2 separate regions of the Homo sapiens genome follow, and region 2 is linked to region 1. Evidence: promoter capture Hi-C in human tissues and cell types (Jung and others, 2019). All regions are on one chromosome and are shown on one strand. Each heading gives the region's core, a stretch centred on a gene start or on the middle of the fragment in contact. The rest is flanking DNA. Distances are from core to core; before and after follow the strand shown. Region 1 holds the start of ASRGL1 (asparaginase and isoaspartyl peptidase 1). Region 2 overlaps SCGB1D1 (secretoglobin family 1D member 1).

The links. Contacts are between HindIII fragments. The study calls those that stand out against the background at their distance.
Region 2: a contact is called between a fragment that was not itself captured here and the fragment with the promoter of ASRGL1 in region 1, in 2 of the 25 tissues and cell types used here (H1 embryonic stem cells and lymphoblastoid cells).

The regions. Positions count from the first base shown.
Region 1 is chr11:62,333,200-62,339,747 of GRCh38, forward strand. ASRGL1 (asparaginase and isoaspartyl peptidase 1) reads left to right here and starts at 4,249. Exons shown (of 7, transcript NM_001083926.2): 1 at 4,249-4,375; 2 at 4,691-4,968. The coding sequence starts at 4,779. RefSeq lists an enhancer at 4,160-4,829. The HindIII fragment of the contact is 36,513 bases long and covers 1-6,548 here.
Region 2 is chr11:62,191,045-62,197,592 of GRCh38, forward strand. SCGB1D1 (secretoglobin family 1D member 1) reads left to right here. Exons shown (of 3, transcript NM_006552.2): 2 at 1,012-1,199; 3 at 2,355-2,495. The coding sequence ends at 2,384. Among named protein-coding and RNA genes, the nearest start is that of SCGB1D1, 4.1 kb to the left of the region's middle. RefSeq lists an enhancer at 1,226-1,726. The HindIII fragment of the contact is 4,142 bases long and covers 583-4,724 here.

The sequences.
Region 1 (6,548 bases), core at 2,999-5,498:
GCGAGGCCAGAAGGGGGATGGAGTGGAAAGGTGGTTTTCCCTGCCGAGCCGGGCTGCCCAGTGGCCAGGCTCTCCTCCGACTGCCCCGGCCAAACTCCACCATGGCTCCACTGCTCGATGGCCTGCCGGCATCTGTTGGCACCTGTCAGTGTGCTCTTCCACCAACGTGCTCCTCTCGGCGTCCAGCCGCTTGTGTGCCTGCCCCCTAAGATCTTGAGGTGTTTTTTTGTTTTGTTTTGTTTTGTTTTGTTTTGTTTTGTTTTTGAGATGGAGTCTCGCTCTGTCATTCAGGCTGGAGTGCATTGGCATGATCTCAGCTCACTGCAACCTCCACCTCCCGGGTTCAAGCATCCTCCTGCCTCAGCCTCTTGAATAGCTGGGATTACAGGCACGTGCCACCACCCCCGGCTAATTTTTTGTCTTTTTAGTAGAGACAGAGTTTCACCGTGGTAGCCAGGATGGTCTCGATCTCCTGACCTCATGATCCACCCGCCTCGGCCTCCCAAAGTGCTGGGATTTCAGACTTGAGCCACCGCGCGCGGCTGGGTCTCGAGGTTTTTATGGGCACAGGATGGGGGCGTGGTGGGCCAGAGTGGTCTTGGAAAATGCAACATTTAGGCCTGAAGGCAGGAGTGCCTGTCCTCACCTAGGTCCATGGGCACAGGCCCAGGGGTGGAGCCCTAGCCAGGGACCATGCCCTTCTCTACCCAGCACTTCCCTGCCCCCATCCCATATCACTAACTGAATTACAATTCTGTGGTCAGAGAGGAGAAGAAAGTTAGAAAGAAGTGCTATTGCACAAAATGCTGATGTGGGCTTCCTAAAAACAGCCTCAGGCCCCGTTCCTGAACAAATTCATGGGTACTAAATCTCCTAAATAAGCTCAGGGATCTCAGAGTTGAAACGTATGTGTCCCGCTTCTTGTTTGAAAGCGAAGCTCAAGATAGGAAGGTGGCAGGCTCAAGATACTGTTACACATTCTAGAATTTGGAGGGAGTCTCACAGATTCCCATCCTGCCCCCAGTGGGGTCAGCCAAAAGCCTTTTCCTCATGTAGCTGAGACTGGTGGGGATGGGAAGTTGCTAGGCAGTAAGAACGTAGTAAAGGCAGCCTGCCAGTTCCCCAGTGGACCTTCAGAAAATGTTAGTTGCGGCCAGGTGTAGTGGCTCACACCTGTAATCCCAGCACTTTGGGAGGCCAAGGTGGGCAAATCGCTTGAGGTCAGGAGTTCGAGACCAGCGTAGCCAAGATGTTGAAATCCCATCCCTACTAAAAATACAAAAATTAGCTGGGCGTGGTGGTGCATGCCTGTAATCCCAGATACTTGGGTGGCTGAAGCAGGAGAATCATGTCTGAGCCTCGGGAGATGGAGATTATAGTCAGCCAAGATCGCACCACTATACTCCAGCCTGGGCAACAGAGCGAGACTCCGTCTCAAAGAAGAAAGAAAGAAAGGAAAGAAAGGGAAGGAAGGGAAGGAAAGGAAGGAAATGTTAGTTGCTTCTTTCTTTTTTTCTTCTCTTCCTCCCTCCCACCCCCATTTCTTCTTCGTCAATCTCTCTAATATGCCTCCTTCATTTCTGACCCAGAAATGCCCAGTCCCTGCCCAGTCCCTCCTTTTCTGGTCCCACCTCCTCTCCCCAACTCTGGCATTCCCTAACCCAACCCTCCTCCTCCTAGAACATCCAGAGCCACTGTAGTTAGAATCACTTCCTTGGGGCTCTAGTCAACCTCCCCAGTCACACAAATGGGTTACTCCTCCCTTCAAAAATCCCTCTAAAATGATAGTAAACAATCTTAAAAAGAATACTACCCACAAAGACAGGAAGAATGGGAGAGATGACAATGGCAGGTAAAAAAGGTCACTTTGGAAGATGAATAACAAATGGCAGATTAAAGGAAGTTGTAATCTACTTGAGAGGTGAATCCATTTGTTCTGGAGAACGCTTGAGAGACTCAGGGCTTAGACACACAGGAATCTCAAAGATGGGGAGGCAGGAGTGGCAGGTGTTCCCAGTTGTCTCTCCAATAGCCTGTCACCCTTCCTTCTTGCCAAGAGACCTTGATTTTATCCAGGGCCATGATGTACCCTGCTAAAATAAAAACTCAGACTCTCTTGCCACTAGGGGCAGCCCCCCAATCCAGTTCTGGCCAATAAAAGTCCACTTGGAGGACTTCTAGGAAAGCTAGAGAGCTTTCCTGAATTAAAGGAACAAAGGGGAGCTGGCAAAAGCCTTCTTCCCTTTGCCCTTCCCCATTCCTTCTGCCCCAATAGTGATCAAGGTGCCTAGGAGCACCATAAATGTGAAAGCCACATGCTGAAGGGAAGAGAAGGAGATGGGACATCTGTGTCACCTTGGAGCTGCTGCACCAGCCTGGGCAGCAACCACTAGATGTCTTGTTGTTGTTGTTGTTGTTGTTGTTGTTATTGTTGTTTTCAAATCAACAGTTATCTGGTTAAACCACTGTGGTCACGTTTCGTCAGGGACAGTTGAATACAATCCTTAATCCATAAAATGATTGTTGATGGAACATCGTCTACAGAGGAGTTAGCCAGATTCCTTCTCCTATCCCACAGAGCCGGACAAAAAGATGCTTCCTCTTTCCTCCTCAAAGACCAGAAGTTTATTTTCTAGAGAATTTATCTAAGAGACTTTGGATTGGGATGGGGAATACGAAGCCCATCAGAGAAGTAGATAAACGCATGAGGCTGAGATGGGAGGATCAAATGGAAACCAACATTCTACCTGCTTGGGCCACCAGCCACCTTCCCCAGCCTCAGCCAGATCACTGAATTCCAGATCAATCAGGAAAAACAGTAGAGATGGGGTTTGAGTTAGGGCTAGGCATAGGGTAGGGTTCAGGTTCCTATAAATAGCTGAAACCAAATGATGGTGAGCTGTATTATGATGACACAACTAGGCTCACGACCAGTTGAGACGTGCTAAAATAACCCTCTTCCAAGAGGTGAGTGTGGGAGACAGAATAACGGCCCTCAAAGGTGTCACATCCGAATCTCCACCTGTGAACACTCCTCACATGGCAAAAGGGACTTTGCAGATGAGAATAGAAATTGTAAGAAAGGGAGATTATCCTGGGTTATCTGGGTGGGCCCAATGTCATCCCAAGGGACTTCCTTTAAGAAGGAGGCAGGAGAGTCAGAGTCAGAAAAGAAAATCGTGATGATGGTGACAGAGAGAGAAGTGACGTAGCAGCAGAAACAGGCCAGAGGGAGAGAGAGTTAAAGATGCTAGGCTGTTGGCTTTGGCAATGGAGGATGAGGCCATGAGCCAAGGATACAGGCAGCTTGTAGAAGCAAGAAAAGACAGATTCTCTTCTGGAGCTTCCCGAAGGAACTCAACCCTGCAGACCCAGTTTGAATTTCTGACCACCAGAACTGTAAGATAATGTGTGTTGTTTGAAGCCAATAAATTTGTGGTAATCTCTAACAATAGGTCACTAGAAAGGGAATGACTGATCCTTAGTGGGGTGCCAGGGAGAAGGCTTTGCAGGAGGGGTTCATTTAAACTGGGCCTTAAGGCAGGAAACGAAGGTAAAACAGGAGTAAAGGGAATTCCCAAGAGTGGTAAAATATGTTATCAGTTGTGGGTAAACAAGAAGGGAAAGGACTCTCCTATCCACAGGAGATCAATCACAGTTTGCCTGGATCTGTCCCTGTTTATGCCCATTGTCCCAGTATAATTTTTTTTTCTTTTGATTCGGAGTTTCACTCTTGTTGCCCAGGCTGGAGTGCAATGGCGCGATTTCCACTCACCGCAACCTCCGCCTCCCAGGTTCAAACGATTCTCGTGCCTTAGCCTCCAGAGTAGCTGGGATTACAGGCATGCGCCACCACGCCCAGCTAATTTTGTGTTTTTAGTAGGGACAGGGTTTCTCCGTGTTGGTCAGGCTGGTCTCGAACTCCCGACCTCAGGTGATCCGTCCGCCTCGGCCTCTCAAAGTGCTGGGATTACAAGGCATGAGCCACTGCGCACAGCCTAGCGTTGCTTTTCAATCTGCAATTACAAAATCGTGGCATGCCACTTCACGCTTCTCGCCACCAACCCAACCACCCAGCCCCTAGCCTGGTCAGGAGCAGGAGGTTCCCCGCGTGCCACCAGGAAGCTCGGGCCGGCCAAGAGCGTAGACTCTTGAGAGGAGTGAGACAGGTGCGCGCCAGCCGGCCTTCGGGGCTTTATGGGAACTGGGCCGTGCGGCGGTCCCGCCCTCGTGCGCAGGCGCAGAACCGTTGTGACCAGAGCGGTTGCGGGCTGAGCGGTTTCGAGCCGGCGTCGGGGAGCGGCGGTACCGGGCGGCTGCGGGGCTGGCTCGACCCAGCTTGAGGTCTCGGCGTCCGCGTCCTGCGGTGCCCTGGGTAAGTCGGCGGCCCTCCCGGAGCAGCCGCCCGAGACGCGGGAGGGCGAATGAAATAAACGAAAATAGACATTTTCCCGAAGGCGAAATAGACATCCTCCTTCGGCGCCGGGGCTTGGAGGCGGGCGGCGGTGGGCGCGGGTTAACGTCCCCGGGGAAACTGAGACCCCCAGCAGGTCCGGGCCGGGGGCGGAGAGGAACGCGGGAGGGCGCCGGGCCCCTGGGCTTTTCGTACCAAGCTCGACCGAGCCGCCCCTACCCACCCCCAGCTGCGAACCCAGCCGTTCAGAACAGAGACTGGGCATTGTCCCCACAGGGTCTCCCGAGGACCTTGTACCCGCGCGGCTTCCTTGGGCTGGCTTTGGACGACGCTTTCGCCTTCCTGCTGCCTAGGATCCGCCGACATGAATCCCATCGTAGTGGTCCACGGCGGCGGAGCCGGTCCCATCTCCAAGGATCGGAAGGAGCGAGTGCACCAGGGCATGGTCAGAGCCGCCACCGTGGGCTACGGCATCCTCCGGGAGGGCGGGAGCGCCGTGGATGCCGTAGAGGGAGCTGTCGTCGCCCTGGAAGACGATCCCGAGTTCAACGCAGGTAAATGTGCCTTTCAGCTAGTAAATAATGTGAGTCAGGTCAAGCTCCTTCTTCAGAATAAATAGAACCTACATAGTGTTAGGGAATCTAATGAGCTTTGGGGTGAAACTAAGTATGTAAAAAAGAAACAATATTTAATTTTTCTACCTGTGCTGAAAAGAGTCAAACGCTAAAATATTTGTAGAGATTTATACTGAGGCAAATATGAGTGACCAATGGCCTCTGATACAGCTCTTGGGAAATCCTGAGAATGTGTGCTTCTGGAGAGACATAAGATGTCAATCAGTACATACAAGACATACATTGGTTCCATCTGGAGAGGTGAGACTACTGGGGGAGGGGGAGTGGTTTCCAGGTCATAGTTAAGATTCAAAGATTTTCTGATGAACAATTGATTTAAAGTTTTGTCCAAACACCTGGAATCCACAGAAGGGAATGTCTGGATTATATAAGGACTTGTGGCTGCAGATAGAATTAATAGAAGGCGGTTTAGCACGGTGGCTCACGCCTGTAATCCCAGCACTTTGGGAGGCCAAGGCGGGTGGATCACCTGAGGTCAGGAGTTCGAGACCAGCCTGGCTAACAGGTGAAAAGCCACCTCTACTAAAAATACAAAAGAAAAAAAAAAAAAGCCAGGCGTGGTGCTAGGAGCCTGTAACCCCAGCTACTCGGGAGGCCGAGGCAGGAGAATAGCTTGAACCTGAGAGGCAGAGGTTGCAGTGAGCCGAGATCACTCCAGCCTGGGCGACAGAGCGAGACTATCTCAAAAAAAAAAAAAAAAACTGAAAAAAGAAGGGAATGTCTGCATTAAGATAAGAGGTTGAGGAGACCAAGATTTCCCTTAGGCAGAGGAAGTCTCCAGGTAGCAGTCTATTGAGAGAATAAATTGTAAATGTTTCTTATCAGAGTTGATTCTCTCCTGAATCAGGAAAAAGGCCTAGAAAAGGAAGGGGATTCTCTTCAGAATGTAGATTTTCCCCACAAGAGATAGCTTTAGCTTTGCAGGACTATTTCAAGATATGGCGAAGAAACGTAATTTGGGGTAAAATACTTCACTTTCAGGGCTTGCTATCTGTCATGTGATGTCATACTAGAGTCCCGCTGGAATTTGGTATCTTATTGCTACAAAGTCTGCTTTGTCAGTCTTAAGATCTGTTTTAATGTTAGTGCTGGTCAGCTGGGCCTGAATTCCAAAAGGGAGGAGGGAATAATGAGGCATGTCCTACCTCCCCCGACAAGGTTCCAAAGTTTTCAGGTTAACTTTGGAGTGCAGAGTGTATTCCTTTGTGTTTCGCTTCTTTCACTCAGTCCACCCTTTTTTGGAATACTAATCATTATAGCTAATATGAGTATCTACCATGTATCAGGCAGTGGTCTAAGAAATTTGCTTGATTTATTGAATCTGAACATTAAATGAGTTGATCATGTAACTCTCTTAAGTTGGTTAACTTGTGTTAAACTAACTCAAGTTAACTCATAATGAACATTAAATGATTCACTTATGAGTTAATCACTTAAACTCAGTTGAGTTAAATGAGTTAGGTATAAGTTAGGCATAATTATTATCCTCATTTCTCAGA
Region 2 (6,548 bases), core at 1,404-3,903, 140 kb before region 1:
GAACTTCTATTTTTCTAAAATTAATTCTGGCTGATTTTTCCCCAGTTCATTTGGGTACTTTCCTTTCCCCTGTCAGGACCGATCCAGACTCTGATTTTTCTCTTTCCTCTTCTTTTCTGAACCTCTCCCTGTTTCCCTGTGACACCCCGATCCTACCCTCTCCAAATTCTCCCCACAGTTTGAAGTCGGGTAGTCAGGGGTCATGTTGAGCATGGTGGGGCGCTTTCTGGATGCATGGTGTTTGCAAAAGACTTAGGTGAATGGAGATTCCAGACCAAGCAAAATGATTACTCCAGGTCTTTCCAAAATTCCCAGTGGGAGCAGGAATGAGCCTCAGTTCCCTCCTCTCATCCTCTCCAAATATTCTAGATGCTGCTGCAGAATATGGGCCAAGTACAATTTCCTGTATAAGCTTCTAATGTGTGTTAAAACTGATTCACATTATTTTATTTTGTTTTAATTTGTTTACCTTTTAGCTCTGTCTGTATTGAATCACATAAGCCTAAATTCTACAACTTGTTCTCAAAACATCACCTTCAACATTTCAATAATTTTAACTTCTTCTGTTCCAGATTTACTCATTTCTCTAATTTCTGATAGGATTCTGACTCTACCATTCCACTTCAAAATTTGATTACTCAAAGCCTCCTCTTCACCAATGTCCAAGACTAATAAAGTGTCACTTAACTGGCATAGAAAAGTGATTATTTTCAAATCTAGAAAAGAGAACGTTGGCCATCCATCCAGAGAAGCTTTGGAAAGTAATGAGTGTGCTTTAAAAAAAAAACAAAGACTGAATGAGTGATCAGGAAGTTGGTTCTCCAGTTCTAGCTCTACCCTTTGCTGTGTGACCTCAAGGAAGTCACAACCTCCTGGGTCTGACATTGTCATTGGCATAGTTATTGAATAGAAGCCTAAAACCCTGGGGTTCCTGTCTGGTCTGACATCAGGGAGGCATGGGAGAAACACTGATTTCCTTACACAAATTATATTTTTATTCTTTTGCTCCAGCAAATGCAGTGGTCTGCCAAGCTCTTGGTTCTGAAATCACAGGCTTCTTATTAGCTGGAAAACCTGTGTTCAAGTTCCAACTTGCCAAATTTAAGGCACCTCTGGAAGCTGTTGCAGCCAAGATGGAAGTGAAGAAATGCGTGGATACGATGGCCTATGAGAAAAGAGTGCTAATTACAAAAACATTGGTAATTTCTGTCTCTTTCATGTGTCCAGGCTTCTGGTCAGCGGCACAGTGTGAAGTGAGGTCAGCTTGCTTGCTGCTCTGTGAGGGACACAGGTGGTGGGGCACCTGCCTTACTGGTCACCGCTTGAGAAGGTCACCTGGGACCACAGGGTGGGTGCTACCATTTCACCTGCAGAATTCAACTCAGCTGCACACAGCCTCCTGCATGTTCCTCCTTCTCAGGTCACCTACCTGGATGCCGTGTCCCCAGAGTGTGCTGAGGACATGGGGAGTGAGCCTGGGTCCAGGCAGGGGTGGTGAAGGGCCAAGCACAACTGTCTCTCCACCTGGGGACTTTCCTGAGGCCAAGTGGACCTCACACAGTCACTGTGGAATGTACTGGGGAGTGTGGGAGCCTTGAACAGGGAGAAGAAGGCAGGGAGGGACCTAGAGCAGGGGCTCCTGCAGATGCTGCGCTGGAGGGCTGGACTTCTCTGCAGCTTCTGCAGAACCAGGAAGGAGCCCCTCCCAGCTCCTCAGACTCCACGCTCCCCTCCTCACCCACGATGCTCTCCTGACCACGGCCAGTGGGCCAAGACCCTCGCTACTCTACCTCCTGCAGTGCCATGGAAGCGGGATGTTCTCACTCTGTCTTTCTCAAGAAATCAGAGGTTTTCCAGGGGCCTCTCAGCCTGGCTGCCTCTGGGTTGCTGTCCTGAGGTTTAGCTGCAAATGCTCATGGAAGCTGCAGGCTCAGGATTGAGGTGCTCAGGCCCTGAGGCAGAATTCCCACATGGGGAGGCTGGAGTCTCCTGGAAGCCAAGCTTCCCAGAGGCCCTCCCAGCCCTGACCAACCTCTCAGCACTGGGTCTTTCATTGCGGGGAACAGGAGACTCCAAGTCCTGGGACAGCCCAGACAATAACCTCTTGCTGCTCTGCTCTGTCCCCCCTCTATGAGGACCCTGGGCCTTATGCTTGTGTCCCCCCAGGGCTATTGGCCTGGCAAGGAAAGGCTGGTCTAGGTCTAGGCCCTGGTTTCCCACACACACTGGGTTCCTGCCTCTACCCTTCAATTGTCTTTGGGAGCAGAATTCCATCGGCCACTTGGATGTTAACCTGTTGTCTCCAGGAGCTGCATGACCGACCTCACCTTCCTTTCTTTCCTTTTCTATTTCAGGGAAAAATAGCAGAGAAATGTGATCGCTGAGATGTAAAAAGTTTTTAATGCTAGTTTCCACCATCTTTCAATGATACCCTGATCTTCACTGCAGAATGTAAAGGTTTCAACGTCTTGCTCTAATAAATCACTTGCCCTGAACTTCTCCACTGGTCGTGTTATCCTGCAGTCTTGGGCCTTGAGTTGAGAGTGGTTTCCATAGGGGAGTGGCCTTTGGCTGACAATCAACTCCAGAGAACCAGCATCCCGTTATCAATGGGGCCTGAGTCCAGGCATCCCAGAAGGAAATATTTGGTAGGAATCATCCTGCATTCCTTACAGATTTTCCATCCTGCAGCCGTAAATGAAAACCATGGTAATGAGGACACAGGAATTACAATGTTCCTGCTGGTCTTGTACTGAGGGAACCCCAAGCCTGCCTGATTGTCCAGGCCCAGGGTTCCCACCTAGCAGGGACCCTAGTGGATGTCCCCTCAGACCCACAGTCAGCCTGCTTGGTGCCACCTCTGCACTGTGGTTTATCTCCCCTCTCATGTCCAGTATACTTTCTTTTCCATTTACCATAATTTGAGGACATCTCCAGGTTTCAACCTGGATTTCACATTTGTTCACTCCCCACACTCAGAGGACTCCTCAGCGTCTGCATCACTCACCAGCACCTGAGGTGAATGCTTCCTTCCCTCCCTCAAGCCACCCCAAGAGCTCCAGAGACCAGCACCCCCTGCCAATTGGACAGCTCCAAGCGCACATTCCACACTCATTTCAGGAGCAGGATGTAAAACTGAACACAGGGTCCGCCCTCAACCTGCTCTCCCTTCCATGAGCCCATCCAGGCTAAGGCACCCACCCAGCAAGTCCCCTGACCAGGACACAGGGAGACGCCACAGGTTCCTGGCTTGGTGTTCTGTGTCTGCTGCAAAAAACCTCCACAAGCTTGGTGACTTAAAACAACTGATTCGGCTGGGTGGGGTGGCTCACACCTGTAATCCCAGCACTTTGGGAGTGCAAGGCAGGCAGATCACAAGGTCAAGAGATCGAGGCCATCCTGGCCAACATGGTGAAACCCCGTCTCTACTAAAAATACAAAAATTAGCTGGGCATAGAGGCGCAAAACTGTGGTCCCAGCTACTCAGGAGGCTGAGGCAGGAGAATTACTTGCACCTGGGAGGCGGAGGTTGCAGTGAGCCGAGATCGTGCCACGGCACTCCAGCCTGGCGACAGAGTGAGACTCCGTCTCAAGAAAACAAAACAAAACAAAAACTGTGGGGAAAAGCAAGAGAGATCAGATTGTTACTGTGTCTGTGTAGAAAGAAGTAGACATAGGAGACTCCATTTTGTTCTGTACTAAGAAAAATTCTTCTGCCTTGAGATTCTGTTAATCTATAACCTTACCCCCAACCCCGTGCTCTCTGAAACATGTGCTGTGTCAACTCAAGAGTTAAATGGATTAAGGGCAGTGCAAGATGTGCTTTGTTAAACAGATGCTTGAAGGCAGCATGCTCCTTAAGAGTCATCACCACTCCCTAATCTCAAGTACCCAGGGACACAAAAACTGCGGAAGGCCGCAGGGACCTCTGCCTAGGAAAGCCAGGTATTGTCCAAGGTTTCTCCCCATGTGATAGTCTGAAATACGGCCTCGTGGGAAGGGAAAGACCTGACCATCCCCCAGCCCGACACCCGTAAAGGGTCTGTGCTGAGGAGGATTAGTATAAGAGGAAGGCATGCCTCTTACAGTTGAGACAAGAGGAAGGCATCTGTTTCCTGCCCGTCCCTGGGCAATGGAATGTCTCGGTATAAAACCTGATTGTACGTTCTATCTACTGAGATAGGGCAAAACTGCCTTAGGGCTGGAGGTGGGACATGCGGGCAGCAATACTGCTTTGTAAAGCATTGAGATGTTTATGTGTATGCATATCTAAAAGCACAGCACTTAATCCTTTACCTTGTCTATGATGCAAAGACCTTTGTTCACGTGTTTGTCTGCTGAACCTCTCCCCACTATTGTCTTGTGACCCTGACACATCCCCCTCTCAGAGAAACACCCACGAATGATCAATAAATACTAAGGGAACTCAGAGGCTGGCGGGATCCTCCATATGCTGAACGCTGGTTCCCCGGGTCCCCTTATTTCTTTCTCTATACTTTGTCTCTTTGTCTTTTTCTTTCCTAAGTGTCTCGTTCCACCTTACGAGAAACACCCACAGGTGTGGAGGGGCAACCCACCCCTTCAAAAAACAAAACACCAACTGATTCTCTTGCATGTCTGGGGGTCAGAAGCCCAACATTAGTATCACGCTCAGGAGGTTGGAGGCAGGAGGGCTCCACTTGCGCTGGGGGCTCTCAGGGAGAGTTCACTAAGGGCTGCTTCTGGCTTCTGGGCTGCTGACCGTCCTGGTCCTGTGGCCACATTACTCCAACCTCTGCCTCCATGATACATTCTCATCTCCTTTTTCTTCCAGGTTAACGCTCCCCGCTGCGACTTATAATTACAAAATATAGGGTTTGAGTTTAGGCACCACCAGAATATTCAAAACAATCTTCCCATCTTATGACCCTTACCTTCATCACATCTGCAAAGTGCTGTTTTTGGATCATGTAACGGAACATTCACAGATTCCAGGGATTAGGAAGTAGATATCTTTGGGGGAATGGGGGCAAGAATCAGCCAACCACAGCTCCCCTCCCTCCTGCGCCCTAACAGTGCTCTACATTCTATTCCCTCCATGGCCACAGCATCACCTCTAAGAGTCGCTCCATTCCCATCAGACGTCACATCACAGCCCAGTCCACATCCTTCCCAGCTCAGACTAAGTCCCTAAATTGTCTTGCAGCCTCCGAGAACGCTTCCTGTAATACATCCTCCTCATTCACGCCAAAGTGAGCCCCCTAAAACTGAAATGTGACACTATCATCTGTTCAACAACCCTGCATGACCAGAAGGCACTTGTTCTCAAGGGTTTCAAGTAAGGGAACACAATACTGAAAACACACTTTCATAAATAGTGGTTATTTTTATACAGTGGAGAAAATAGTAGATGACAATTATTATTATTATTATTATTATTATTTGAGACAGAGTTTCGCTCTTGTCGCCCAGGCTGGAGTGCAATGGCACGATCTCAGCTCACTGTAACCTCTGGTTCCCAGGTTCAAGCAATTCTCCTGCTTCAGCCTCCCAAGTAGTTGGGATTACAGCCATGCACCACCACGCCCAGCTAATTTTTTGGGTTTTTTTAGTAGAGACGGGGTTTCTCCATGTTGGTCAGGCTGGTCTCAAACTCCCGACCTTAGGTGATCCGCCCATCTCGGCCTCCCAAAGTGCTGGGATTACAGGCATGAGCCACTGTGCCTGGTCGATAACAGTTATTATTAGGTAAGCATTGATCTTAAGGGAAATTTGTATTTTTAATCACATCAGGAAATATGTACACTTAGAAGTAGAACCTAATGTGTGAAACTCATGACCAGTTCAGCCTACTACACACTATGTGTGCTGGAAACAAGGATTCATGGAGTTCTTCCAGCACTCAGAGACACCTAGAAGGAACCACTGCCGGGGGAGCAAGTCCACACCCTTATGTTGCACACAAGGACTTCCAAGGCCCTTTTCCTGCCAGCCCCTGTCCCTTCCTCTCCTTTCTCCCAGGTGCTCCATGCTCAGCCATTGCTGTTTATATTTCATTTCTTAGGCCTCACATGAGTCACACCCTTGCACCAGGGTATATGGGTTTCCCTTTCCCTCTATAGCTTTTTGTTCCTATGACATCTGACAACCCCATCTTTAGAATCCACTTCTCCTCTGTAAAGCTTTCTTGGATACTCACATATTACATCAAATCTTTACACACACGTGCATTCACATGCATAGATATCTGTTTTTTTTAAATTATACATTAAGTTCTGGGATACATGGCATAACGTGCAGGTTTGTTACATAGGTATACATGTGCCATGGTGGTTTGTTGCACCCATCAACCCGTCATCTACATTAGGTATTTCTCCTAATGTTATCCCTGCAGTAGCCCCCCAACTCCTGACAGGCCCTGGTGTGTGATGTTCCCCTCTCTGTGGCCATGTGTTCTCATTGTTCAACTCCCAATTATGAGTGAGAACATGCGGTGTTCGGCTTTCTGTTCTTGTGTTGGTTTGCTGAGAAAGATGGTTTCCAGCTTCATCCATGTCCCTGCAAAGGTC